Linked DNA regions of Homo sapiens: regions 2 and 3 are each linked to region 1. Evidence: promoter capture Hi-C in 16 types of primary human blood cells and fetal thymus (Javierre and others, 2016). All regions are on one chromosome and are shown on one strand. The core of a region is centred on a gene start or on the middle of the fragment in contact, and the rest is flanking DNA. Distances in the headings are between cores, read along the strand shown. Region 1 holds the start of FSIP2 (fibrous sheath interacting protein 2). Region 2 has its middle 130 kb from the start of NUP35. Region 3 has its middle 110 kb from the start of NUP35.

What was found. Contacts are between HindIII fragments. The CHiCAGO score rates a contact against its expected background, and 5 or more counts as called.
Region 2: a contact is called between a fragment that was not itself captured here and the fragment with the promoter of FSIP2 in region 1, in 3 of 17 cell types (M0 macrophages, M2 macrophages and M1 macrophages). The highest score is 12.9, in M0 macrophages.
Region 3: a contact is called between a fragment that was not itself captured here and the fragment with the promoter of FSIP2 in region 1, in 3 of 17 cell types (M1 macrophages, M0 macrophages and M2 macrophages). The highest score is 14.9, in M1 macrophages.

The regions. Positions count from the first base shown.
Region 1 is chr2:185,737,317-185,740,277 of GRCh38, reverse strand. FSIP2 (fibrous sheath interacting protein 2) reads right to left here and starts at 1,474. Exons shown (of 23, transcript NM_173651.4): 1 at 1,285-1,474; 2 at 807-932. The coding sequence starts at 1,383. All of the region lies in intron 1 of FSIP2-AS2 (FSIP2 antisense RNA 2), which reads left to right. RefSeq lists a silencer at 1,073-1,342. The HindIII fragment of the contact is 3,199 bases long and covers 1-1,702 here.
Region 2 is chr2:183,256,981-183,259,680 of GRCh38, reverse strand. No RefSeq gene overlaps it. Among named protein-coding and RNA genes, the nearest start is that of NUP35, 130 kb to the right of the region's middle. The HindIII fragment of the contact is 2,988 bases long and covers 1-2,700 here.
Region 3 is chr2:183,237,662-183,240,403 of GRCh38, reverse strand. No RefSeq gene overlaps it. Among named protein-coding and RNA genes, the nearest start is that of NUP35, 110 kb to the right of the region's middle. The HindIII fragment of the contact is 4,724 bases long and covers 1-2,742 here.

The DNA.
Region 1 (2,961 bases), core at 225-2,724:
AATCAAGGGCAACGTGAACTCTAAGCAAAAATAAGCTAACGGGGGGGCTATCACAGTTCAGAGAATCTTGATAGCTCAGATTCATAGACTGGGGAGAAGAAGACAAGGTATGCCAGGTTTGGGGGCAAAGTTGACAAAATACTGAAGTATTAGCATGGTATTTATGGGTAGGTGTGAAAGACTCAACTTGAAGAAGCTGAGCCTCTCTGGTTGGAGACAATGCTGGATGGAAAGGCTGGGGCAAATTATGGAGTCTCTTCCTCATTGAGGCAGGGCTTTCTTTCATTAAAGTAAGGTTAAAGTACTAAACATATTAACTCATTTTAAGTCCCACTGTTTCAGTTCTTTTTTTTTTCTTTATGTGTAAAATAGAATTCAACTCAAAACAAAATAATGTTTCCCGTGAAGAGAGTTTGGTCCAAGATACTGTCAGTTAAAATCGTAACATATCATTAAATGGCAGCTATCACTAATAACCTTTCAGCTTCTAAACATGTTTCTAAGTACATCAAATCTTACTATATAAGTATATATGAAGTTTTATTATAAGGAATATTAATATGGTACCGTGAATTGTTAATTAAGGACTAAGAATCTAAACTTTCTGGAATATGATTATGTCCAAACCATTAAGATGAAAGTGCTTCATATGCATTCTAAACAATACCTTCGGTCAGATGTGGGATTTTCTTTTTCCTGTAAATGTTGATGCAAATTCCTTTAATGAATTTTGTATGATGCAGCCTTTGAGTTAAACAGCAAGTAGTAAAGGGTAAAGGAAAGAAAGACGATAAAAACTTGTTCACCTTTTCACCGAAATTCGTAGTATAGAATACAGCATTGCTTCCTGGGATCACAGGCAGCTTGACCCCGAGAGGTAGGTCCAGTAGCTGAGCCGGTCCAACCCCTGCAAAGTGGGTTTTGTGCACGCCCTGTCAGACACAATTGGAGAGTTTTGTCTTTCCTTTTAGGCAGTATTAGTTTAGTTTAGACCAATCTACTTCCATTGCAACCAAAGACTCCGAAGAATTATACAATCAGGGTTCGGGGCATCCTGAAGTCCTCCCGTTTTCCCTGGTCACCAGCTCTCCTGGCGTCCCGCGCCTGCCAGTTGCGGCCGGTACAGTCCGAGCCACCGCCACCGCCCCCGGGCGCCGCAAGAGGGCAGCCTCCTGACGGGGGACAGTTGGGAGCCTCGCGACCCGTGTGTGGCGATCCCTGCCCCGCTCCCCAGCAGGCCTGCGGCCGCCAGAGGGCGACGCCGCCCAGCTTGCGGCCACTCACGTCTCTGCACTGCTGGGTGTCCGCGGCCAGGACGCTGGCGACCGTCTTGGTGACGGCGACTTTGGCAGGCTTGGAGCAGGCGCCGAGGTACAGCTCCATGGCCGGCACAGCCCCCTCAGCCCCTTCCTCACCCGCCCCGCTCTCCTTCTCTAGCACCCCGTTGTCCCTCTGTCCGGACCTGACCAGGAATGGCCAGAGCCCAACGACCTCAGCCCCGCCCCCCGCGTTCCAGGCTTCCAATGGTAGCGGCCCCAGAAGGGCGGTGGCCTCCTGAGGGGCGGCTCGCGCCAGCGCGTAGAGCGCCCGCAGAGCTGGGAAAATCGGTCCGAGAGGCCTGATCTGAGAGGACCACAGTTGAAACTTCATCTTTCTCTGAAACCATCACGCCTTAGCCAATCCTAACGAAAACGTATAAGCTTTGTTGGTGGGTAACTGGTTAATTTCCCCTGGCTTCCAAGGAGCCCTGTTCCGTTCAATAAAAATTCCCGAGTGATTGTTTTTGCCCATTCTACATCTTCCCCCATATAGACCACACCCCATCCCCAGGCTCCCACAGCTTCTTCCCACACCAGGTCCACAAGGCAGACGCGTTGGCTTCCTAAGGGGCTCATTGCCTTCCTCCTGCCTCTTCTGTCCCCTAGGTTTCCTTCTCCTTTCTAGCGCCCTTTACCACTCTCCCACTGCCTCCTCTCTGCTCCTGCAGCTTGATCCTATTTCCCTCTTTCTCCTCAACCATCCAGCCGAAATTTATAAAGTGCTTGACGCTTCTGGGCCAGTCATTGAGCTAAGCACTGGGCAGGACACAGCCGTGAGTAAAATATGGCCCCTGACTGTAAGAAGCTAACTAGACTGGGAGTATTCTGAGGGCAGAGACAGTATGTGTCTAACCCACCTGTTGTTTAGACTTAACTTCATACTTTCTTTGGTCCACTGCTGTTCTCTTTTATTTCTGGCCCGACTAGTAATAACAGTTACCATTTCTTCAGAATCTACTAACTTCCATATACTGTGCCAAACACCCTTTTAAACATTTATTTATTTTAGTAGCCTTATCAATAATTACTCTTTATTTTTCAAAGATTGAGGAAGACTGACAATTGCTGTTAAATGGTGGCTCCTGAGGCTGTTTTCTTAATCAGTGCACTCTGCTCTCTTTGTTGTAATTCCACACATGTGCTTAGGACTCTTAAATTTGAAATCTAAGCTTGGGATATAGTCTATTGCCAGCTTCCATATGGATATCCCACAATTGTCTTAAATTCAATCTACTCAAATCTCAACACACAACTTTCACCAAAACAGGAAAAAAAAACAAAGGCTTCTTCCTGCATTTCCTATCTCAGTGACAATACCAAAGTCTACCCAAGCCAGAAACTAAGGAATGCTTCTAGATACTTCTTTTTCCCCTTATCTCCCATGTTTAGTTGGTCCCCAAGTCCCACTAATTTTATCACTAAAATTAATTTGCCCGATTCTATCTACTCCTACTTTACTCTCCCGGTTAAGCCGCTAATCATTTTTTGTTTGTTTGTTTGTTTGCACCATTGCCACAGCCTTATAACATCTCCCTGCCACCATCTACCCCAAAAATCCATCTTGTATCAATTTGATCTTTGATGGCAAACTGACCATTTCTCTTCCTCACTTTAAACTCCCAACTGCCCTCAGCGCAAAGTG
Region 2 (2,700 bases), core at 16-2,515, 2.5 Mb after region 1:
AATACAACAGATACAGAGAGTCACACAAAATACCACTCTTGAAATCACCAGCGAAGTCAAGAAATAAAAATTTGCCAATTGTCTCAGAAGCCCCTTGTATTAGTCTGTTTTCACTCTAATAAAAACACACCCGAGACTGGCCAATTTGTAAAGAAAAATAGGTTTAATGGACTCACTGTTCCACATGGCTGGAGAGGCCTCACAATCATGGTGGAAGGAGAAAAGTTTGTCTTACATGGTAGCAGACGAGAGACAATGAGAGCCAAGTGAAAGCAGAAAACTCTTATAAAACCATCAGATCTCAAGAGACTTATTCACTACCAGGAGAACAGTATGGGGGAAACTACCCCCATGATTCAATTATCACCCACTGGGTCCTTCCCACATGTGGGAATTATGGGAGCTACAATTCAAGATGAGATTTGGGTGGGGACACAGCAAAACTGCATCACCCCTCTATGTGCCCTTCCTCTATCTCAAAAAAGTAATCACTATCTTGACTTTTATAGCAATAATTTCCTCATTTCTTTATAGTTTTGCCACCCAAATGTGCATCCCAAGCCACTATAGTTTATTGTTGTCCATTAAATTTTATTATCATTTAAATCCCTTTCATCTATGTGTTCTCCCCACCCTCTTTCTTTACATTTGATCTGTATTCGACCTGTCTGCTTTCCCAGTGAAGTTTGCCAATTACATATTCATGACACAGTTCAGCATGTTCCTCTGTACTCTGTCTTCTGTCTTCTGTTTCCAATTTCCAGCAAATTGGCAGCTAGAGTGAAAGGCTTGATCAGACTCAGGTTCAATGCCTTTAGCAAGACCACAGGTGGTATGGATCTTTAGTGAAATATAATGTCTAGTGGCCTCTTTCAATTGTGATACAAGCAGCTATTGTGGTTCAGTCTCATGTTGTAAGCAGACAATTTCTCCAAAGAAACCCTGGTTTCAAGACGACATATTTGACATTAGGAATACACATTACTACTGAGCTGGTCATTGTTTCTAGAATTCATCTCAGTCTTTCTCTCCATATTCATGAGTTCATGCTGACACTTCGAATTCAAATTCAAAGCTACAGAGTTTTTATTGTTGTTGTTTTAACTCAATCTTTTCTCAAACTTCTCTTTTCTAGTCTCAGTTATCTCTATTTTGCTTGACTTGCTCTGACTCTATTCCAAGCTGTTTCATCTTAGAGTGGGGCACTGTCCTGGAAAAGAATCCTTGCAAGTCTGTTTCAGTGGTGAATCTAGAAGCTAAACGATTCCAGATCCTTCAGCACACACTGTCATTCCCTTGCACTCACCCAATACCAGATTGAACAAAACCCTCTCAGTATTCATTGCTGTTCTCAAATTGGTCTGCTCACTTTATGGTGAACTTCTGTGACTATTTGGTTCTCCTCTTCTCCACTGATTCCTCTGCTCTGTCTCACTGTACAGGTCTTGGGTCAAGTGGTTTGTCTTCATATACTGTCTTTGGTTTGTGGGGATAGCCTGTCTCCCGGTTTTGTGGTAAATATTGTCAATAGGTTTTTAGTGTTGCTATCTAGCTGTCTACTTTTATGTAGGCATTTGGAGACACAACAACGCCTTCACTGCTGCCATATTCCCGGGATCACCCAAACTATTTTAAGTAGATTTTTGCCATTGTAAGTCAAGAGCGTATTGACTAACACAGCCCCCAGTTCTTTTTTTGTTTGTTTGTTTGTTTTGTTTGTTTGTTTTGTTTTGAGACGGAGTCTCGCTCTGTCGCCCAGGCTGGAGTGCAGTGGCGCGATCTCGGCTCACTGCAGGCTCTGCCTCCCGGGTTCACGCCATTCTCCTGCCTCAGCCTCCGGAGTAGCTGGGACTACAGGCGCCCGCCACCACGGCCGGCTAATTTTTTTTTTTGTATTCTTAGTAGAGACAGGGTTTCACCATGTTAGCCAGGATGGTCTCGATCTCCTGACCTCGTGATCCGCCCTCCTCGGCCTCCCAAAGTGCTGGGATTACAGGGGTGAGCCACCGCGCCCGGCCTCACAGCCCCCAGTCATTTATCTCATTAAAAGCTACCTTACATACACTAACATCAAACCATTAAATTAAAAGAAAATAGCATAATGATAATTTTAAATGCTTATAGTAAATATAGACTCTAAATGAATGGCTAAAAGTGAACAATATACTTTGAAATAAACCTTTTTGTTAGCTATTTTTTTATGGTCTTTAGTCCTTTAGTGGGTGCGCCTAACATTTTAAAGAAAAATGTCCAGCAGGAGATTTGCAAGTTTTCTTTAGCATAGGGCCCATGCCCTAGTTCTGTTAATCAATAGATTTGAGAACACAAACTCAAATCATGTTAAATTATTTCCCTAACACAACTGTTTACAGCAGTTATCTCATCTATTGATTAAAGAAATAAACTGAAAACTTACTCTACTGTGATCCGTAGCGTCAATGCTGCAGGTGAAACAACTTTATAAGGAAGTATTCAGGAAGAGAACCTCCTCAGACATGGTTCAAAATCGCTGGCTTTATATTAAGTTATGGTAAGTTTTTAGTACAAAATATGAACTAATTTTGAAAATTATCAGTGTTATTAATGAGGAAATGAGTAACCCACTGGTTCTATTTTATTAAATAGTAATTTAAAGTAACTTGAAATAAATCCAATGATCCTAAAGTCAAGTGCTACTGCCTAGGCTTATCTTTTTTCATT
Region 3 (2,742 bases), core at 162-2,661, 2.5 Mb after region 1:
TTTAAGTTTAATTAGAGAGTTTTTAAAAAACAGTGCTTTGGAAGACTTTATTAAGTCAAAGAATTATTTTTAAAGGAAATAAAGTATATCAAATATATAAAAACACTTGGAAATAAATATGTTTAAATTGAACTAAATATTATTCAAAGGGTCTTTAAATATATGTAACCTTTTCTAGACTTATAAACAAAATAATAAGATATGGAAGCTAAACTTAAGAGGCTAAGAACCAGGTATTACTAATTTTTTAAACTAAAAGTAAACTCTGAATAGTCTTCTCTGAACACAAAAAGTCACACTGAATAACACAAAAAATCACATATCCACATTTTATTCAGGGCTGTAAGTATAGACATTGGGAGGTGCTTATAACCCCGACAACTATTTATATCAGAGTTTAAGAGTGAGCCTCTCATACCAAAGAATGGACAGGGTGATTATGCATGCTTATTTAATATCTCACGTGTAAAACCAATGCTTTCTCTTTATGGGAGTTCAGTCTAATATTCACAAACTGAGGGAAATGAAGCAAACTGAAGTTGCATAGAACATAGTGACTTCTGAGAACGCTAAGTAGCTTAGTGAGGCTGACCATAAAGTACAGTGCAGCACAACTTTAAATCTCATAACATATTTGAACACAGAGATCAGAAATCGAGGAACACAGTTTGTTTTTTGTTTTGGGAGAGGTTTTCTTAGAGCTAGAAGCAACTCTAGAGAGATTACCTGTTTCGTTTTACCAATAGCAGAACTGCCTATGTCCAGTCTAACAGTCAATTAAATGCAAAGCCCAAATAAGCTATAGCTCTGTTATATGTTGTTAAAAAATTTTTCAGTGACTGGAATAACTTTCCCATAGAACACTTGACAATTCTTGATTGGAAGGCAAATACAATTACAGTATCATGATTAACAAATAAAAACAAAGGAACAGCAAAAGGTGCTTGAAAAGATGTTGAGAATAACTAGTTGAGTCCTCCAAGTAGAATGAAAAAGAGCCCTCAGATCTGCCGAACATTAGTGAAAGCAGCTGGAAATTTAAAGAATATTTTCTTTCTCTTTTTCTTTTTCTTTTTTCTTTTTTTTTTTTTTTTTTTTTTTTTTGAGACGGAGTCTCGCTCTGTCGCCCAGGCTGGAGTGCAGTGGTGCGATCTCGGTTCACTGCAGGCTCCGCCTCCCGGGTTCACGCCCTTCTCCTGCCTCAGCCTCCCGAGTAGCTGGGACCACAGGCGCCCGCCACCGAGCCCAGCTAAGAATATTTTCAAACTGGAATAATCTACATAAAGAAACTAAGTACTTGCCACTTGGTAGAAATGTAAATTAATAGAGTCATTATGGAAAACAGTATAGAGATTCCTCAAAAAATTAAAAACAGAACTACCATATGATCCGGCATGCTCACTATTGGGTATACATCCTAAGGAGATAAAAATCAGTATGTCAAAGAGATGTTTGCACTCCCATGTTCATTGCAGCATTATTCACAATAGCCAAGATATCTAATCAAACTAACTGTCCATCAGTGAATCAATGGATAAAAGAAACACAATGGAATACTATTCAGCCTTTAAAAGGAAGGAAACCCTGCCATTTAAGACAATATGGATGGACCTAGAGGACATTATATTGAGTGAAATAAACCAGTCAAAAGACAACTAATGCATTATCTTATTTAAATGTGGAATCTGAAAAAGCCTAAGTCATAGAAGCAGAGAATAGTCTAACAGCTAATTAAATGCAAAGCCTAAATAAGAAGCTATAGCGCTGTTATATGTTGTTTAAAAAATTTTTAACAAAAAAACAGGGAATGGGAATGGGGAGTGCGGATTGAAGAGATTTTGGTCAAAGGTTTAAAAATTTCAGTTAGACAGGAGGAATAAATTCAGGAGATATATTGTACAACATGGTAACAATAGTTAATAACAACGTATGGTATACTTGAAAATGTCAAGAGAATAGATTTTAAATGTTCCCACCACAAAACAAGGTTACGTATGTGAAGTAATTAGCTGTTAATTAGCTTCTTTTATCCATTCCACAATGTACACATATATTAAAACATTCTGAGCTGTGCGTGGTGGCTCATGCCTATAATCCCAGCACGTTGGGAGGCCGAGGCAGGTGGATCACTTGCGCTAGGAGTTCAAGACCAGTCTGTGCAACATGGAGAAACCCTGTCTCTACATAAAAAATTAAAAATTAGCCAGGCATGGTGGTGCATGCCTGTAGCCCTAGCTACTTGGGAGGCTGAGATGGAAGGATCACTTGAGCCCAGAAGGTCAAGGCTGCATTGAACAGTATTTGCCTCACTGTATTCCAGCGCTGGGTAACAAAGCAAGATCTTGTCTCAAAAAAAACCACAAAACATTATGTTGTACACCATAAATATATATATATATAATTTCATCAACTAACAATTTAAAAATAAAAATTAATTTTTAAAAAGAAATTAAGTACTTGCTTCTACATGAAAGGAAGTAAGAAAAAAGGTAGAAAAGGTACTGACACCCCTTGCCCATTCCAGGAAATCTGACAAAGTTGTGTTTTCAAACCTTTGTCATTCAGGTTCAACTTCTACAGTGTTTGATGTATCCTAATAACATTTGTCTCATTATTTACTTAATCTTTTTCTTTACATTGAATTTGGCCTTTTTCTATACAGTAATATTCTTGGGATCAAAACTCTGATGTGTTAGTTATATTATTTTTACTAATACACATTAAAATAAATACATTTCTATT